2 separate regions of the Homo sapiens genome follow, and region 1 is linked to region 2. Evidence: promoter capture Hi-C in human tissues and cell types (Jung and others, 2019). All regions are on one chromosome and are shown on one strand. The core of a region is centred on a gene start or on the middle of the fragment in contact, and the rest is flanking DNA. Distances in the headings are between cores, read along the strand shown. Region 1 has its middle 8.0 kb from the start of NTNG2. Region 2 holds the start of LAMC3 (laminin subunit gamma 3).

The links. Contacts are between HindIII fragments. The study calls those that stand out against the background at their distance.
Region 1: a contact is called between a fragment that was not itself captured here and the fragment with the promoter of LAMC3 in region 2, in 1 of the 25 tissues and cell types used here (liver).

The regions. Positions count from the first base shown.
Region 1 is chr9:132,151,551-132,156,556 of GRCh38, forward strand. No RefSeq gene overlaps it. Among named protein-coding and RNA genes, the nearest start is that of NTNG2, 8.0 kb to the right of the region's middle. RefSeq lists an enhancer at 2,923-3,423. The HindIII fragment of the contact is 3,649 bases long and covers 1,534-5,006 here.
Region 2 is chr9:131,006,866-131,012,101 of GRCh38, forward strand. LAMC3 (laminin subunit gamma 3) reads left to right here and starts at 2,309. Exons shown (of 28, transcript NM_006059.4): 1 at 2,309-2,722. The coding sequence starts at 2,350. The HindIII fragment of the contact is 10,117 bases long and covers 1-5,236 here.

The sequences.
Region 1 (5,006 bases), core at 2,108-4,607, 1.1 Mb after region 2:
GCTTAGCTGGGGGAAGGTTACTGGGGACAGTAAAGCATAGGCTCTATAGGACCAGAAGTTGCCTTCCTGCTCTGCTGTGGGAGGACCCCAAGGTGGCCCGACCCCAGTGACCTGGGCCCTGAGGGGGATGCTTGGGAGCGGGGTCTTCCTGAAAACACCCTAGGGAATCCCAAGGGCAGCAGAGAACCACATCACCCCAAACTCTGGGCTGCGGGCATGTGCACATGTGTGTTTGAGGTCAGCAGTGATTATCAGTATACTGAACAACCAGCAGGCCATGGGTGCCGCCCAAGGGGACAGGCAGGTGCCAGGTGAGCGCAGGAGTGAGACCTAGAGGTCCTGCTGCTGTGCCAGGCACTAGCCCAGGTAGCTGCTGGGTTTGGGGGAGGTCTAGCTATCTAGAGGTTCCCAAGGAAGGGTGCTGAGTGGCCTGGGAAGTGGGATGGGGAGACCCTCCAGGGGCCCAGAATAGTGGCTCTTTGCCGACAGTAAATGCATGAAGTATTTCAATGTTTCAACAAATGGGAGTGGTGGCCCTCGTGCAGACCAGCCGGACAGCAGCAGCCCCACATATGGATGCCTCATGCCAAGAGGTTCTTTCTGGAAACTGCCTGGTCATACCTGGTTAAGAGGTTCCAGCCTCACCCTTGGGCTCCCAAGGCCCTGCAGACACAGAGCAGTTGCTCGGTACATGTTTGGCCATTTAGCTGCAAAAGGAGAGTTTTTCCCAGTGTACCATAAGGCATTTCTGGAGCTCACATTGACAAAAATTAAAAATCAAAGCACAGACCAGAAGCTCAGGCCTGTCTACCCGGCCCGCCGCCTCTGTGTTCCCCAGTGGCCGCGCCGCTGGCTGCCCAGGGCGTCACCTGTGCCATGTGCATGGTGTGTTAATGTCAGGCTTCTAACAATCCTGTTCTTGACGCATGTCTCTCCTCTCCTTAGGGAGTTGTCATTGTGTTGATCGTTCAGGGAAACATTTGTACTGGGTGAGCTGAGACTCCTGTGTCAGGAGAGGACCTGGGAGGCCAGCAGCTTATCTGAAAATGTTAGCACTGGAAGCACCCTCAGGTGCCACCAGCTCAAACTCCTCCCTTGATGGATGAAGATCTTGAACCCCAGAAATGGAGTCAGGGACTCAGCTACAGTCCCAAAGCTTTCAGGGGACAGAATTGGGGCAAGAAATTCTGAGAAATGTGGGCGGGGAAGGGTCAAGGCACTGGCCGTGGGGTCACAGGCATGTGTTTGGATCCTGGTGTAGGACTTGGATCAAGTTGTTTCACCTTTCAGAGCCTCAGTTTCCCTATCTGTAAGGAGGGACAAGGAAGAGCCCCCGCTTCCAGGTCTGGCACATGTTCTGTTATGTGGGGCGCGAGTAGGGGTTTGGAAGAGAGAGGTGGTGCTTTTGGCTGCACAGTGAATGGGTGTTGTAAGCTGACCTCAGAGAATGAGTTCATTTGAACAGGAGTTCAGGGATATATCCCTCTATTTGACAGGAAAGTATATTTTCTTTGCCTTCTAATGTCGCCCTAGTTCACCATCTTATGAATTCAAAGCCAAAGGTGGCCTTTCCCCCTTTGAGGTGGGGTGAGCACTCCCTGTTGCTAGAGGCCCAAAGGCTGTGCTAGGTAAGGGGAGGCCCTTCTGCTCAGGCTGGGGACACTTTCCAGGGTCAAGGGTTCACCTGCTGCCGGCAGGCTGATCACATGTGGGGCTCCTACACCCCTCTGAGCACTCTGCACTCATCATTGCATTCTTAACTTCTCACGACAACCCTGAGAGGTGGTGCTGTTGTGCCCATTGTACAGATGGAAAATTGAGGTGAGAAGGCGTGCCCAAACACATAAGTGGCAGCACAGGGACTCTCAGCCCGGGCTGTCAGGTTCTGAGGCCAGGCTCATAAATGTCAAGCTTACCGCGAATGTGGCCAAAGACCATCATATAGGCCACTGGAGGACCATCCTGGGGCCGTCTCAGCATCCCCAGGTGACCACGCCACACGTGCTTGGCTCAGAGTCCCATCGGCCTCAAGGTGATCTCCAAAAGCAGTGAAAGAAGCTGGGGTCATCAGAACTACAGAGAGGGGTCCTGGAGGAGCCTCTGGGCAGGGCAGGGAAGGGAGTGGGCCAGATAACCACAGAACTGCGTCGTGCAGCCAAGTTGGACTCCAGAACCAGCAGAACCAAGAGAGGAAGTCGGGCCCAGAACTTTTGTTTTCCCAGATTCAAAAGAAAAATCTCCTGGGAGTCCTTTTGAATGTGAGAAGCCATGTCCCTCCAACTCCCAGGTGACGCAAAAAGCAAAGCATGTGGCCAAGTGACCCTGGCTGCTTTTCCCTCCCAGCCTGCACGTCTGTGTTTACTCCACCAGTAAAAAAAAAAAAATGAACCCAGTGAAAAAGGAGTGAAGGGTAGGGATGGGAGGCAGAAGACTCTGTGAGGAATCTCCAGGGCCGACAACTCACCGGGACCTCCAGGAGGGGGAGGAGTCCCACCCCCAGAAATGGGGGCAGCATGGGCTAAGTGTGGACATCCTAGAGGTCGCGGGCAATGGCCAGCCAAGTCCACGGAGTGAGAGACCAGTGGCAGCTGGAGCTGTCTCCATCCATTAGGTCGAGTGTCATGAAACAAGAAATCCAAGCTGGTTCCCAAGATCAGGAGTTGACTTTGTGAGCGATGGTACCTGCCACCTTCTAGGGAGCCCTGATCCCAAGGCCTTCCTTTGAATAGAAAAGATCGACCAAGAGGGAGGCAGGACGAGGAAGAGAGAGGGACCCTGTCTCACCGTGTCTTACAGCCTGGACTGCTGGAAAGCACAGATGTGGGGATGTTTGGGGAAACATCACTGTGTTTCCTTTTGGCAGGATTCAGAACAAGGGCCAGGGCCAAGGTCACAGGACTCAGAATTCAGTGCTTTGATGGACCAAGAGTTTGTATGCCAATGGTGACAACTTAATGAGGAAATGGTTGCACACAACAGAGCATGTGTGAATGTGCACGTGAGATCAGGAAGGAGGCAGCCAGGGAATACTCCTCTGTTGATCAGTTTCTCTTGCTGTGGGTCGTCTTTCAGAATTTTCAGCTGCCTTTCGTTACAAAGATCGCTGCGCCCAGCTTGCCTACAGCTGTCGTTCATCTGTGTAGGACTTTGCATGGTTGCAAATGGGTGCTTTTGGGGTGGGGCCTACATGGGGCTCTTTTTGAACGACGACAATGATCAAGCGAGCAGGGTGTGGGGGTGCAGTGCTCTGAAGGCCGCTGCAGGGTTGGTGAGCTCCCCGGGGCAGTGGGAGGCAGAGGGCTGAGGCACAGAGCAGGTAGTTCTATAAGTGGGTCAATTATTTAGTGATCAGCACATGTCTGAGAGGAAGGCCACATCTGCTTTGCTGTCCTGGAGGCCCAGATCCCCTGCCCAATAAGGAAGAAAGATGTTTTCCTCTAGGGGAGGAGTCGCCGGGTGGGAGGGGGAGGCAGCTTCCTCCTGCTGATAATGCATTTTCCCTTCTGATTGCAGCCTTTCCTCAGCTCCTGCTCTCCTTGCTGATGCAAACCTCTTCTCAATCACCTCCACACGCCCCTGCTGCCCCGAGCGGGAGGCTGTGAGAAGCCTGCACACCTGGCGAGAGGATGAGGCAGACCCAGGAGAAAGATTCCATGACTCGGCCAGCTGCGGCTCCTTCCACAACTTCTCCTGCTCCCCACATTGGGAGTCGGGAGAAACTGTCCCAAAAGCAGGAGAGGAATGGGTGGGATGAGGGTGGAAATTCGGATTCGGATTCAAGAGCAGATTCTGAATTGTTCATATGTGAAAAGAGACACTGTGGCTGGGAGGAGAGCTGGGGCTGGTGTTTCCATTTATTTCCCAGGCTTGATGGCCAGGTGACACTGGTTAGTCTAACCCCATTACTCTTCTGACACGGAGCAATGTTCCCCTGGACTCCCCATCATCGTGGAACAGAGAGCCTTGGCCAGAGGAGAGACTCGGCCAATGACGACTAATCAGAGCCGACATTTCTTGATCATCTACTACCTGAAATAATTCCTACACATTTTCTCAGTGAATCCGTCCAACAATCCCAGGAGGTAGGTGCCATGACTATCACCACTTGACAGGTGAGGAACTGAGGCCCAGAGAGGTGGGAGTGGAGGTCTGGGTTCCCACCAAGCCTGGGGATTGCTCTTGGCGCTCCTAGTTTGAGCTTTCCTTGTCTCCTATCCTGAGAGGTAGGACTCGCCTCCACCATTGACTTTGTGTTGTCTAGTGTTTTTGGCAATACTGCCACATGCCTGCATGCATGTGTGTGCATAGGCATACACATACCCACTCACACTTCCTCAGACTGCACCGCCTCCCTGGTTTGGCCTGTGTCTGGCACATAGTAGGTGCTCAGACAACCTTTGTGAGGTGCACAGGCAGCCTGGTCCATGAGATGTGAATAATCCCACTAGACTTGCTGCACCCCAAAGGCAGGACCCAGTGGATCTGTCACCATGGGCATCCCCAGGGCTGGGGGATGCTGGCCCACAGTAGGTACTCAGTGGGTAGGCCACAATTGCCCAGAAGATGCCCCCTGAGCTCGAAGCTGGCAGGGCTGGGCAGTTACCCGCTCTCACTGAAAAAGGGGTGCCAATGCTCCTTTGCATCCTGTCTCCTGAGACTGAGGAGTCCTCAGGGACTCCGGAATTTATGGCAGTGAGCAGCGATGGGTCCTGCCTCTGGGGCTTCCAGACGAGAGACCGGCTGCCTGCCTGGCTGTCTGCTGCTCCATGGAGTGTGGAGGAGGTGGGCTTCCTTCTCACAGCAGCCACCCCTCGCCAGGGAGCTGAGCAGCTTTGCCTGGAGGAGCCTGGGCTCTTCTGGGCTAAGCTTTGCTGCTTTCCTCTCCCTGTCATGCTGCTGGAACTCGGGAAAGAGACATTTCCATGGGAACTCACGGATTGGAGGGATCCCAGCCAGGCTTCTGGTGGAAGAAACTTTGCAGACAAAGGCACAGTGGCACAGTAGTA
Region 2 (5,236 bases), core at 1,059-3,558:
CTGCTGCAATCATGTTCTTGACCATAAGAGAAAACTTTAACAAAGAAGCTTCCATAACACCATCAAAAAAACAATTTGGAATTACATTAAATGATATTTTAACTTGGGGAGAATTTGTATATTTAAACAGTTGGAAATCCGTGAATATAGATGCTGGTCTCTTCAGGTTTTCTGTCTCTCAGTAGCATTTTATAATTTGATTCATTTATATCTTGCACATTTCATACCAGATTTATTATTAGGTGTTCTACCATTTCCTACATCATTGCTGGCATCAGTTTTTTGTTTGTTTTGTTTTGTTTTTGTTTTGTTTTTTAAAAAACAGGGTCTTGCTCTATTGCATAGGCTGGAGTGCATTTGCGTGACCTCGGCTCACTGCAACCTCTGTCTCCTGAATTCAAGCGATTCTTGTGCCTCAGCCTTCCAAGTAGCTGGGATTACAGGTGTGCCACAATGCCTGGCTAATTTTTGTATTTTTAGTGGAGATGGGGTTTCACCATATTGCCCAGGCTGGTCTCGAACTCATGACCTCAGGTGATCTGCCTGCCTCAGCCTCCCAAAGTGCTGGGATTACAGGCGTGAGCCACCGCACCCAGCCAGAAAATGCCTATTGCTGGCATTGGTTTTCGTACTCTATCCTGTAGTCAGCCATCTTACGGAGCTCTTATTAATTTTAATAGTCTTAGTAGAATCTTTTAGATTTTCTAGATGTATGTTCAGGTAAGTAGAAGATATAAATATTTATATCTTTTAAGTTTTTTGTCTTATTGTATTAGCTAGAACTTCCAAAATAACCTTAGGTACCAGTGGTGATATCATATACTAACTCTACTTAGATATAGTTCTGAAATCTCTAACTTATTCCATGGGTCTATTCTGTAGTCCTTTCCACAACCGTATTGTTTTAATCATGTGTAAATAACTGGTAGTGAATCAGCCCACTACAGTTCATCTTGCTTCCAAAAATTTTCTTTCTTTCTTTTCTTTCTTTTTTTTTTTTTTGATGGAGTTTCTCTCTTGTTGCCCAGGCTGGAGTGCAATGGCATGATCTCAGTTCACTGCAACTTCTGCCCCCCGGGTTCAAACAATTCTCCTGCCTCAGCCTCCTGAGTAGCTGGGATTACAGGCACGCACCGCCACACCCAGCTAATTTTTGTGTTTTTAGTAGAGACGGGGTTTCACTATGTTGGCCAGGCTGGTCTCGAACTCCTGACCTCAGGTGATCTGCCTTCCTCAACTTCCCAAAATGCTGGGATTATAGGCGAGAGCCACCGCGCCAGGCCAGGAAATTTATTTCTATTTTCCTTAGAGTTCGTCTGGGAATGGCTGCCTTTTTTTTTTTTTTTTTTTCGAGACAGGGTCTGACTCTGTTGGCCAGGCTGGAGTGCAATGGCATGATCACAGCCCACTGCAGCCTAACCTCCCGGGCTCAAGGGATCCTTCCACCTCAGCCTCCCAGGTAGCTGGGACTACAGGCTTGTGCCATGACGCCGGGCTAATTTTTGTATTTTTTTGTAGAGATAGGGTCTCACTATTTTGCCCAGGTTGGTCTCGAACTCCTGGCCTCAAGTTATCCTTCCGCCTCCACCTCCCAAAGTGCTAGGATTACAGGCGTGAGCCACCGCGCACGACCTGGCTGCTAAATTTTATCGAATGACTTCTCTCCCTCGATTTGCTAATGTTAATAAATGGGGAGTAAAGGGGGCATTTATGGGGGTTGGGGCAGAAGACAAGGAAGCCCTCTCTGAGGTGACATTTGTGATAAGACCAGGTACCCTTGTCACAAATGTCAGGTTAGAATCTCTTTGCTGTGGGGACAGAGCGCAGCCGGCAGCAGGAGTGCTTTTCAGGGTTAAGGGCGACAGGAGCTATGCGGAGCCATCTCACAACCCTGTCCAGGGCACACTTTATTGCTAGGAGGAGATGCGCAAACGGTAGCGATCAGTTAGAGATAGATCCTCTTGTCCCCTTTTATCTCAGGACTCCAAGGCACTGCTGAACAGTTTCTGTTTAATGAGCAGCCATTGAAGCCTCCCAATGGCGAGAATGAGCCTGCATCTTTACCGACCCCACTCCACAGACGAGGAAACTGAGGCTCAAAGAGGCCCGGGTCGCCTCTGGGGCAGACTCCCGAGCCGCGCACTGCCGGGCACGTCCAGCAGGTGGGAGTGGGCGCCCGGGGACGGCGCGGTCCCTGGTATTTTTAGTGGGGTGGGGCCGCCGCCGCCCGCCCCTCCCTCCAGCCTCCCCGCCCCGCAGGGGAAGGCGGGTCCTGGCGGCCAGCGCGCGGTCCGCGCCCACCCTAGCCGAGCGGGGCCGGCAGAGCGCGCGGCGTCGGTGCCCTTGACCATGGCGGCGGCTGCGCTTCTGCTGGGGCTGGCGCTGCTGGCACCGCGGGCGGCCGGCGCGGGCATGGGCGCGTGCTATGACGGCGCAGGGCGCCCGCAGCGCTGCCTGCCGGTGTTCGAGAACGCGGCGTTTGGGCGGCTCGCCCAGGCCTCGCACACGTGCGGCAGCCCGCCCGAGGACTTCTGTCCCCACGTGGGCGCCGCGGGCGCGGGGGCTCATTGCCAGCGCTGCGACGCCGCCGACCCCCAGCGCCACCACAACGCCTCCTACCTCACCGACTTCCACAGCCAGGACGAGAGCACCTGGTGGCAGAGCCCGTCCATGGCCTTCGGCGTGCAGTACCCCACCTCGGTCAACATCACCCTCCGCCTAGGTAAGCGCGGGCTGGGGGCACCGCCACCGCACCCCGTGTCCCCACTCCACTGGGGGTCTGAGGCTGAGGCCTGAGCTGCTGTGCGCCCAGGTTGGGCTGCAGGACCCAGATATGGTGTTGGATGGAGGGGCTCAGAAATAGGAATTAGGCTGGGTGCGGTGGCTCACTCCTGAAATCCCAGCACTTTGGGAGGCCGAGATGGGAGGGTCGCTTGAGCCCAGGAGTTCAAGATCAGCCTGGGCAACGTAGTGAGATCCCATCTTTACAAAAAATAAAGAAAAATAGGCCGGGCGCGGTGGCTGACGTCTGTAATCCCAGCACTTTGGGAGGCCGAGGCGGGCGGATCACCTGAGGTCAGGAGTTCGAGACCAGCCTGGCCAACATGGTGAAAACCCGTCTCTACTAAAAATAGAAAATTTGGCCGGGCGTGGTGGTAGGTGCCTGTAGTTCCAGCTACTCAGGAGGCTGGGGCAGGAGAATCGCTTGAACCCGGGAGGTGGAGGTTGCCGTGAGCCGAGGTCGCACCACCGTTCTCCAGCCTGGGCAACAGAGCTAACTCCGTCTCAAAAAAAAAAAAAAAAAAAAAAAAAAGCTGGGCGTGGTGGTGCACACCTATGGTCCCAGCTACTCAAGAGGCTGAGGCAGGAGGATCACTTAAGACTGAGAGGTTGAGGCTGCATGAAATATGATAGTGCCACTGTGCTACAGCCTGGGCTACAGAGTGAGACCTTATCTCTTAATAAAAAGAAAGAATGAAAAAAAGAAGAAAAAAAAACAGGACCTGTACCCCTAGATAGCCAGAAGGATAGACTGAGGGGTGCCCCGTGGGGCGGGAGAGGCAGGGAGTCACTTGCTGAGCTTTGGTTCTAGGTTGCAATTATAATCCCCTGTAATGGTTTTCCATCCTAGACCAGAACTGTTGGGGAGGTGACACACCAAGGACTGAATTGGTCACCCTCTAGGGCAGGGGCTCCTGATCTTGGGTCTTCTGGTCAACTTCAGGTATTCAGTGGACCCCTGAAGCTGCCTGCAGTCCTCGGGTGGGTTCTGGAAGATAGAAGCTGTGATGTTCATCACTGCACAGGCAAAGTTTAACCCTCTGGGGAGGAGGACTAAGTTTCTTCGTGCTGCTGGGCAGCTGCGCCCGGTGGCATGGCCTCTCTGCCCTGCTCATGACTTGCCGAGGTGCAGAAGCCCTTAGATCTCCAGGAATCAGAATCTGGAGTCTGGACCCAGCCCCGGTTCTCAGCCCCTGCCCCCACTGCAGGGAGCTGGAATGCTCTCTCCTCCCTCCGTGTTCAGCCCGATTCCCATGTCCTCTGTGGCCGGGTAAGCGCCAAGTGTCTTTCCTGTTGCAGCCTCCACTGCCCTTTCAGGAGGGGCTGGTATCACTGGTTAGACTCCCTTATCTTCGAGGTCAGCCTCCCAAAGCTTTGAAAACTCAAATTATTTTTATAACTCATTTTTGCTGCTAAACCTGACCTGAGGCTATTTATAAGCTATGTTTATGCTAGTGAGAATGAATATTCATTCGCTTTGCTACTGAAATCTCATTTGAGTACAGCCGGCAGCCCCAGACCCCACTGGGGGTATTAGCACAATATATGGTATAAGGCCTGCATCGTCTTTCTAAAAGCTGAAAAATGTTCAATTCCCAAACACATTTGGAGCCTAGGAGTTTGGATTAGGGATGATGGGACTGTATCCCATGTTTCAGCTGAGAAAATTGAGGCTCAGAGAGGTTGTTTTGCCCAAAGGCACAGAGCTGCTAAGTGAGCATCTGAGCGTGGACATCCATGGACATCAGAGGTCAGAGCATAAACTCTTTGATGTGAGTTCCGCCACCCATCAACTGAGTCAGCTCCACCTCAGCCTGGTGACAGTGTCCTGGGGAGGGCTGGGAAGTGACATTGGAGTGGGGTGCGGGGAGGACCGTGAGCCCGCTCTGCAGAGCACACAGGTACTGGCTGCCACCTCAGAAACTCCCTTCTTCTGGGGCCACGTCACCTTCTCTCAGCCTATCTGGATCACTAGGTGGGGCTTCTGAATGGGACGAGGGGGAGGGGACAGGAAGCCAGTGGGGAGGGGGGAGGCTGGGGGAGCTGTCTGGATGGAGCTGGCAGGACCCCAAGGCCACAGGGGAAGGAATCTGGGACAGGGTGGGGAGTTGTTGGGGAGACACAGTGCTCCATGACAAAGGGTATCACATGTGTCCTGGGAACCCAGGGGCCAAGGAAAGAGCTCAGCCCAGGCACAAACAAGGTGGGAGGAAGTTGGGAGAAATGGCCAAGTTTTTGGATTTGAGGTAGTTCCTGTTTACTGTGCATCTACTGTGTGCCAGGCCCTGTGCTGAGCTGTGCACCCTCGTGGAACTCTGCCTAGAACCTTAGAAGCAGAGTGGTTCTGATCCTTCTAAAAGCAAGGAACCTGAGAGCCTCCACACTGTGAATGTAGAGAGCGAACACACACACACATACACACACACACACACACACACACACACACTCCCTGCTG